Linked DNA regions of Homo sapiens: regions 2 and 3 are each linked to region 1. Evidence: promoter capture Hi-C in 16 types of primary human blood cells and fetal thymus (Javierre and others, 2016). All regions are on one chromosome and are shown on one strand. The core of a region is centred on a gene start or on the middle of the fragment in contact, and the rest is flanking DNA. Distances in the headings are between cores, read along the strand shown. Region 1 holds the start of ATP13A1 (ATPase 13A1). Region 2 holds the start of ZNF100 (zinc finger protein 100). Region 3 overlaps ZNF43 (zinc finger protein 43).

Region 1 (2,700 bases), core at 64-2,563:
TATTTTTAGTAGAGACGGGGTTTCACTGTGTTAGCCAGGACGGTCTCGATCTCCTGAACTCGTGATCCGCCCGCCTCGGCCTCCCAAAGTGCTGGAATTACAGGGGTGAGCCACCGCGCCCGGCCTAGAAGTATATAATTTCAAGTAAACACCAGTTTTTCATTTTTTATGTTAAAGTGGTAATTTCTTTTTTTTTTTTTTTTTTTTTTTGGAGACAGAGTCTCGCTCTGTCGCCCAGGCTGGAGGGCAGTGGCACAATCTCCGCTCACTGCAAGCTCTGCCTCTCCAGTTCGCGCCATTCTGCCTCAGGCTCCGGAGTAGCTGGGACTACAGGCGCCCGCCACCACGCCCGGAGAATTTTTTTTTTTTTTTTGTATTTTTAGTGGAGACGGGGTTTCACCGCGTTAGCCAGGATGGTCTCGATCTCCTGACCTCGGCCTCCCAAAGTGCTGGGATTACAGGCGTGAGCCACCGCGCCCGGCCTAAAGTGGTTTTTGTAATTCATTTTTCTTTTTTTTTTTTTTGAGACAGTCTTGCTCTGTTGGCCAGGCTGAAGTGCAGTGGAGCAATCTTGGCTCACTGCAACCTCCGTCTCCCGGGCTCAAGCAATTCTCCTGCCTCATCCTCCCGAGTAGCTGGGATTACAGGCATGTGCCACCACGCCCGGCTAATTTTTGTATTTTTAGTAGAGACGTGGTTTCACCATGTTGGGTCTTGAACTCCTGATCTCAGGTGATCCACCCGCCTCGCCTCCCAAAGTGTTGGGATTACAGGCGTGAGCCACCGCGCCCGGCTAGTATTTGTAATTCTTATCTATCACATTAAGGCTCTTGTCCGGTGTGGTTGTGTTCCGGGGCGGTCCCCGACCCCGCCCCTCACAAGCCCCGCCCCCCGCACCGGGCCCCGCCTCCTGAACTCCGAAGCTCCCGACCCCGCCTCCGCAGGGTCCAGGCTTCGCCCCTGGTGACAGGTGGTGCTGGTGTAGTCAAGGAGGAGGGCTCGCTTTTTTTGGTTCAGGTTGTCATGGTGGCGCCCAAGCCCGCCTTGCCGGCCTTGTCTTTTCCGGTCTCAGTCCGGCGTGGCAGCGGAGGCAGGCACCGTTAGGTCTTCCAGTCCCTCTCTGTCATGGCGACGCCCAGCCTCTTCTTCCGGCCACAGCCTGTCATGGCGGCACCCGAAGTAGTCCCTGCCGGGGCCAGCCTGTTCTGTTGCCCTGGCTCTTCCTAGTCCAGGCTGCCATGGCGGCGCTCAGGGCTTACCGGAAGTAAAACTTCGGAAGTGAGGCGTTCCTCTGCCCGGAAGTGAGCGCGGCGCTAGGAAAGATGGCGGCAGCGGCGGCGGTGGGCAACGCGGTGCCCTGCGGGGCCCGGCCTTGCGGGGTCCGGCCTGACGGGCAGCCCAAGCCCGGGCCGCAGCCGCGCGCGCTCCTTGCCGCCGGGCCGGCGCTCATAGCGAACGGTGACGAGCTGGTGGCTGCCGTGTGGCCGTACCGGCGGTTGGCGCTGTTGCGGCGCCTCACGGTGCTGCCATTCGCCGGGCTGCTTTACCCGGCCTGGTTGGGTGCCGCAGCCGCTGGCTGCTGGGGCTGGGGCAGCAGTTGGGTGCAGATCCCCGAAGCTGCGCTGCTCGTGCTTGCCACCATCTGCCTCGCGCACGCGCTCACTGTCCTCTCGGGGCATTGGTCTGTGCACGCGCATTGCGCGCTCACCTGCACCCCGGTAAGTGTGTACACGCGAGCCCGACCCCCAGCACGGTCGAGCCTCGCCGTGGGTCCCAGCTGCGGCCTTCCTGTCGGTCACCATCGCGACCTGGGCCACTCATCTGCCTGGCCTGGATTCCCAGGGGCACCCTCTACACTTTGGCGCAGGCTTAATCATGACCCCACTGCTGACTTGCTGTGCATGCCTGGTGCGGGTTATTTCCTTTTTCTGAAGTCCTCCCTGTTATGGTCATTTAGATTCAGTGATGTAATACTTGTAAAAGGCTTAGCGCAGGGCCCAGCATACGTCGCCCAGGTCAGGTAGGAGTTGTTTATACTAGTTCCCATATTAGCGACTACTCTTGTTCTGGAAACGGCCCTACCTTCCATCTCATCTGTCTCCTACCTTGGTTTTCAAAGTGTAAGGCGAGATCACTGGGATAGGTTTCCCCCATCTATGAAGCTTAGTTGGTTCTTAGACTGAACCAAGTCTTGCTGTCCAGTGCTTAGTGGTCTTCCATACTGTGATGGAAAGGAGCATGAAATGCAGTTAATTACAGTGTTGAAGAGAGGCAGAGGTGTTTATGAGCGAGTCATTTACATGATGTCTTTCCGCAAAATGAGGGTGGTGATACTGAGTTCTGTCGGGGATACAACAGCAAGCAAGGTCGCGCTCCTGACCCACAGTTTAGAGTTCTGAGTGACCAAGTGTCGTCGGAGGAGTTGGTGACTGTGAGCTTCCCTGGGCCTGAAGCAGTGACTGTGTCGTCTCTCTCTGGGCCTGCCTCAGGTGACACCAGCAGGTTTGGAGCCATGGACACTGAGGTATATCAGGAAGCTTCCCCTCTGATTCCAGGAGTGTGTTTGCCTCAAGAAGAGGAAAAGGGAACAGCATCAAGGGCTACAGAAAGACAGAAGCCCCCCACCCTGGCTGGCTCTGAATGTGGGTAGAATCCTCATTCTCCTCTCCTGAGAGACAACCTGTTCTGTCCTTCAAAAAG
Region 2 (2,700 bases), core at 60-2,559, 2.1 Mb before region 1:
GTTTTGGATGATTTGTTATGCCTCAATAGCTAACTAATACATGCACCCAGTACAGATAAGTTGCCAGGATTCAGTGACAGGTTGACTAAGAGTTGGCTTCTAACAGTGGACACCCTCTAGGTACTGATTTCTTCCCCTGATTTAAAGTTCGATGTTTTGTAAGAGAATTTTGGGTAATGCAGAAATACCTGTAGACATGTATGCGTGTGATTGGTGCTTAGACTCACATAGTCCCCCACACCACAGGAGAAAACAGATAAACACAGCCTGATTGTTAGGGCCAAGACCATATAGCAAACTATGTTTGTTTTTAATCTATTTTCTCCATCTCTAAATACTGGAGTTCAAGTGTGTGGACAGAACTGAAGACATAGTTGTTTTTTCTCCTGTGGCCCCATCATCCTTTGTTCACTATCTGGTCTCTAAAAGAAAGGTGGGCAACAGGTGGCCAGCAGTTGTTTATTACCTGTGGCTATTTTATTCCTACTGCCCTCAGCTCTTTCTATGGGAACTATCTGGTCCACCCTAGGAACCAAAGAGAGATGTTTGTAGGGAGAGTCTCTTCTTTCACTCTCGCAGGAAAGAGATGTTCAGGCCCTTCACACCGCTGACATCAGAGCTGCACTTCAATGTGACAGCTATTGTCCATGTGTGGCTACTGGGTTCCCACAATGTGCCTGGTCTGAAATGCGATATGCTAGAAAGGTAAAATACAAAGTCAGCTTCAAAGATTTAGTTCCAAATATTTATATATTTTATCAATAATTACATATTTCTCACACATTAAAATGATAATATTTTGAATATAATGGGTGAATTACATTGTTAACAATCAGTTCAACTTGTTTCTTTTTAAAGTTTGGCTACTAGAAAATTTCAAATCCACATGTGGCTGACATTCATTTTAGATGATTTTCTCTTTTCTAAAATCTCAGGCTGCCTGCTCAAAGGGCCAGAAGCCAGGAAGGTCATAAAAGCTGAAATTTTAAAATAATTGTTATATTCTTTTCACTTGTGTATAGCTATATAATGTATTATTTATTTATACATATGACCTTATACACAAATTTAAAGGCAAATACTCTCTGGGATGGGCCTAGCTCAGCTGAGGGAGGAAGCCCTGTCAGAAGAGGGGGCAGTCTAGGCTGTCACTCTTTCTTCATTGAACCCGCATCTGATCACATCTTCTGTCACTCAAAGCCTGACAGGGCGGGGATTTAAGCATTATCCAACCAGGGACGCTGGGCTGGAAACCGTCCAATCAGGCATGCAGCTGGAGCGGACTGGACGGCTTCCGGGTTTGGCGGGGTCTTTGTCTCTCGCTGTAGCCGGAGCTCCAGGTTTTGCTCTCACTTCTCTGTGTCTTCTGCTCCTAGGGGCCTAGCCTGTGTGGCCCTCTGACCTGCAGATATTGGGAGATCCACAGCTAAGACGCCAGGACCCCCTAGAAGCCTAGAAATGGTGAGAGTGCCCGGTCCGACATCCCGAGAGACGGCGAAAGGGCTGGTTGGAACTGGTGGGAAGTAGCTGTGGCGGGACTCAGGCCTCTCCGCAGTCAGCTTCACAATCTGCGCCTTGCCCAGCTCGGCCTCCGTCCCCTTCGGCCATAAGATGGCGGCTGCGCTGACAGCCAGGACCCCAGGCGTCCTTTCTCTTCCCTGCGTAGTGACTGTGCCTTGGCCTGGAGCCCTCTCTTGGCAGCTCTGCACCCGCAGCGCCGCGTCTCTCTCAGATTGTGCAGGGACCACGGGAGGGTCGTCAGGGGAAAATCCTGACTCGGGGTGCGGGTTCATGAATGGGAAGATCTTTGGTCCGTGGCTTTCCCAGTTCCTCTTTTCTCCTATTAAAAATGTATGGGAGTCACTGCACAAATATTAACGATTTTTTTGTTTGTTTGAGACGGAGTCGCTCTGTCGCCCAGGCTAGGGTTTAGTGGCGCGATCTCCCCTCACTGCAACCTCCGCCTCCCGGGTTCTGGAGATTCTCCTGGCTCAGCCTCCCGAGTAACTGGGATTACAGGCGCCTGTCACTGGGCCGGCCTTATTTTTTTGTATTTTTAGTTGGGACGGGGTTTCACCTCGTTGGCCAGGCTGGTCTTGAACTCCTGACCTCGTGATCCGCCCGCCTTGGCCTCCTAAAGTGCTGGGATTACAGGCGTGAGCCACCGCGCCTGGCCTAAAGAATTTAATCAAACAGTGATTCAAGAATCATAGAGTATCCAGCTATGGTTTGTAGTTTGTTGTCTATGGGAGAGGCTTGAAGGAAAGTCATTTATAAAATGTATGATGAAGAAAACTAAATTTAGTAATTGGTTACAGTAACGTAGTTTCTTGATTTGTACAATACAGGTGAAGATTTCCTGGTTGTGTAATCAGAGGTTAATTAACAGTTTATAGTTGTTTAAGCCTACATTTTCTCTGAATGTAGTAATTAAAAAAAAAATGCACCTGAGTTAGATTTTTTTTTTTTTTAAGTAGGAACCCAGGGACTAGAGACACCTCAGTGGAATTGCCTGTCTCTTAATTATTTTCACACTCCACGGGGAACTGATTTTCTGCTGCATTTTTCACCTGTGTCCCAAGCAGGTTGTTAAGTCTAACCCCCGTCCCCCATTTCTCCAGCCTCACTCTGGCTTGCAGTAAGATACTAAATTTCCAATTTCTTCTGGCGTTCCCAAATGTCAACTTTTCCTTCCTAATT
Region 3 (2,700 bases), core at 65-2,564, 2.2 Mb before region 1:
AAGAGAAATGCTTCCAACTTCTGTGTGTCCATTCAGTGTATTGGCTTTGAGTTTGTGACAGATAACTCATTATTTTGAAGTATGTACCTTTAATGCCTAGTTCGTTGAGGGTTTTAACATGAAGAATGTTAAATTTTCTTGAAAGATTTTTCTGCATCTATTGAGATAATCTTGTGGTTTTGGTCTTTAGTTCTGTTTATGTGATTAATCACATTTATTGATTTGTGTATGTTGAAATAACCTTGCATCCCAGGGATATAGGCTACTTGATCATAGTAGATTAGCTTTTTGATGTGCTGCTGGATTCAGTTTGCCAGTATTTTGTTGAGAATTTTTCCATCATTTTTTATTAAGATCATTGGCATGAAGTTTTCTTTTTTTGTTTTATACCAGGTTTTGGTATCAGAATAATGCTATTATGTAATGAGTTGGGGAAGAGTTCCTTCTCAATTTTTTGGAATGGCTCTAGTAAGAATGGTATCAGCTTTTTTTTTTTTGTACATCTGGTAGAATTCTTTTGTGAATATGTCTGATTCTGGTTTTTTATTGGTTTCTAGGCTATTTATTATACTTCAATTTTGAATCTTGTTGGTCTCTTCAGGGATACTTTTTTTTTTTTTTTCAGTCTTTGGAGGATGTACGTGTCTAGGAATTGATCTATTCTAGATTTTCCGGTTTGTTTACATAGAGGTGTTCGTTACAGACTTGAATAATTATTTTGTTGTTGTTGGGTCAGTGTTAATGGCCATTTTGTCATTTCTAATCGTGTTTATTTGGATCTTCTCTTTCTTCATTAATCTCTCTAGAGTGCTATTTATCTTATTAATTCTTTCAAAGATTTTACTCCTGGATTTCTTTTTTTGTTTGTTTGTTTGTTTTTTGTTTTGTTTTTTTTTTTCATTTTGTTTTTGAAACAGAATCTCTCTCTATTGCCCAGGCTGGAGTGCAGTGGCACAACCTTGCCTCACTGCAACCTCCGCCTCACTGCAACCTCCGCCTCCCTGGTTCAAGCAATTCTCCTGCCTCAGCCTCCTGAGTAGCTGGGATTACAGGTGCCCACCAATACACATGGCCAATTTTTGTATTTTTAGTAGAGACCGGGTTTCACTATTTTGCCAGGCTGGTCTCGAACTCCAGACCTCAAGTGATCTGCCCACCTCGGCCTCCCAAAATGCTGCGATTACAGGGGTGAGCCACTGCACCCAGCCTTCTCCATATTTTTATCATTTTTTTGTCTAACTCTCCAGTTCAGATCTGATTTTCATTTCTTGTCCTCTGTTAGCTTAGAGGTCAGTTTGCTTTTTCTTCTCTTGTTCTTTTATGATGTCAGGTTTTGTGTTTTTTTGTTTTTTGAGACGGAGCTCAATGAATCCAATGTCTACTGAAATTCAGATGTTCAAGAGTTCAATATGTCCAGAGACCTGGCTGTTGTAAAAGAAAATATAAATCAGAGGCTTTATTATCCTACCTGAAAATAAGAGAGACTATCTTGTTCAACTCTTTTATCTTAAAGCATTTAGATTATATGGAGATATTTTTATTGCTTTTTTGAAATATATTTAAATCATATTAACAGCCAAATCTTTTGGCATTCTTTTGACTCAAGATTGTCTTTATTTAAGACCTCAGATTCATTGCTTATCCTTGATTTGGGAAAATTTAATTTTTTTTTTAGTCTTTTAAAGTAGACACAGATTTGTTTAGATTAAAGCTCATTTTAAGAGCACACAGAAGTTTAGTACGAAGAACGAATTAAATTTAGAAATACAGAATGGTAAAAACTAAAAAATACTGAATAAATTTCTTTGACAGAAAACTGATAATCCAAGGTAATCTAATATTTGCAGGCTGAAGTACTTACACTGCAAAAGCAAGAACAGTTCAGTGTGTAAACTCAACCTTGGAGTCTGTGTAGTTTTTTTTGTGTGTGGTGTTTTTTGTTTTTTTTTCCTTTGTGATGGAGTCTCACTCTGTCACCCAGGCTCGAGTGCAGTGGCACGATCTCGGTTCACTGTGACCTCTGCCTCATGGGTTCAAGCGATTCTCCTGCCTTAGCCTCCTGAGTAGCTGGAGTAGCTGGGACTACAGGCACGTGCCACCACGTCCGGCTAATTTTTTTTTTTTTTTTTTTTTTTTTTTTTTTTTGAGACAGAGTCTCTCTCTTTCGCCCAGGCTGGAGTGCAGTGGCGCCATTTTGGCTCACTGCGATCTCCGCCTCCCTGGTTCACGCCATTCTCCTGGCTCAGCCTCCCAAGTAGCTGGGAGTATAGGCGCCCGCCAGGGCACCCGGCTATTTTTTTGTATTTTTAGTAGAGACGGGGTTTCACCGTGTTAGCCAGGATGGTCTCGATCTCCTGACCTCGTGATCTGCTCGCTGCGGCCTCCCAAAGTGCTGGGATTACAGGCGTGAGCCACCGCGTCCGGCTGTATTTTTTTTTTTTCCTTAAATTTACTTTTTTTGAGACGGAGTTTCACTCCTGTTGCCCAGGCTGGAGTACAATGGCATGATCTCAGCTTACTGCAACCTCCGCCTACTGGGTTCAAGTGATTCTCCTGCCTCAGCCTCCTGAGTAGCTGGGGTTACAGGCATGTGCCACCATGCCTGGCTAAATTTTGTACTTTTAGAGTAGAGACAGGGTTTCTCCATGTTGGTCAGGCTGGTCTCGAACTCCTGACCTCAGGTGATCCACCCGCCTCAGC

Evidence for each region. Contacts are between HindIII fragments. The CHiCAGO score rates a contact against its expected background, and 5 or more counts as called.
Region 2: a contact is called between the fragment with the promoter of ZNF100 here and the fragment with the promoter of ATP13A1 in region 1, in 1 of 17 cell types (M0 macrophages). The highest score is 5.8, in M0 macrophages.
Region 3: a fragment that was not itself captured here is called in contact with the fragment with the promoter of ATP13A1 in region 1 in 1 of 17 cell types (monocytes); the score reaches 6.0 in monocytes.

What each region holds. Positions count from the first base shown.
Region 1 is chr19:19,662,289-19,664,988 of GRCh38, reverse strand. It overlaps ATP13A1 (ATPase 13A1), which reads left to right and starts at 1,313. Exons shown (of 26, transcript NM_020410.3): 1 at 1,313-1,718. The coding sequence starts at 1,323. RefSeq lists silencers at 827-876, 1,317-1,576 and enhancers at 977-1,266, 1,610-1,711, 983-1,965, 2,097-2,146. The HindIII fragment of the contact is 4,289 bases long and covers 1-2,164 here.
Region 2 is chr19:21,766,188-21,768,887 of GRCh38, reverse strand. ZNF100 (zinc finger protein 100) reads left to right here and starts at 1,309. Exons shown (of 5, transcript NM_173531.4): 1 at 1,309-1,461. The coding sequence starts at 1,459. RefSeq lists a silencer at 1,145-1,322. The HindIII fragment of the contact is 10,466 bases long and covers 1-2,700 here.
Region 3 is chr19:21,828,478-21,831,177 of GRCh38, reverse strand. The region is part of intron 1 of ZNF43 (zinc finger protein 43); the gene reads left to right. Among named protein-coding and RNA genes, the nearest start is that of ZNF43, 6.4 kb to the left of the region's middle. The HindIII fragment of the contact is 3,605 bases long and covers 1-2,700 here.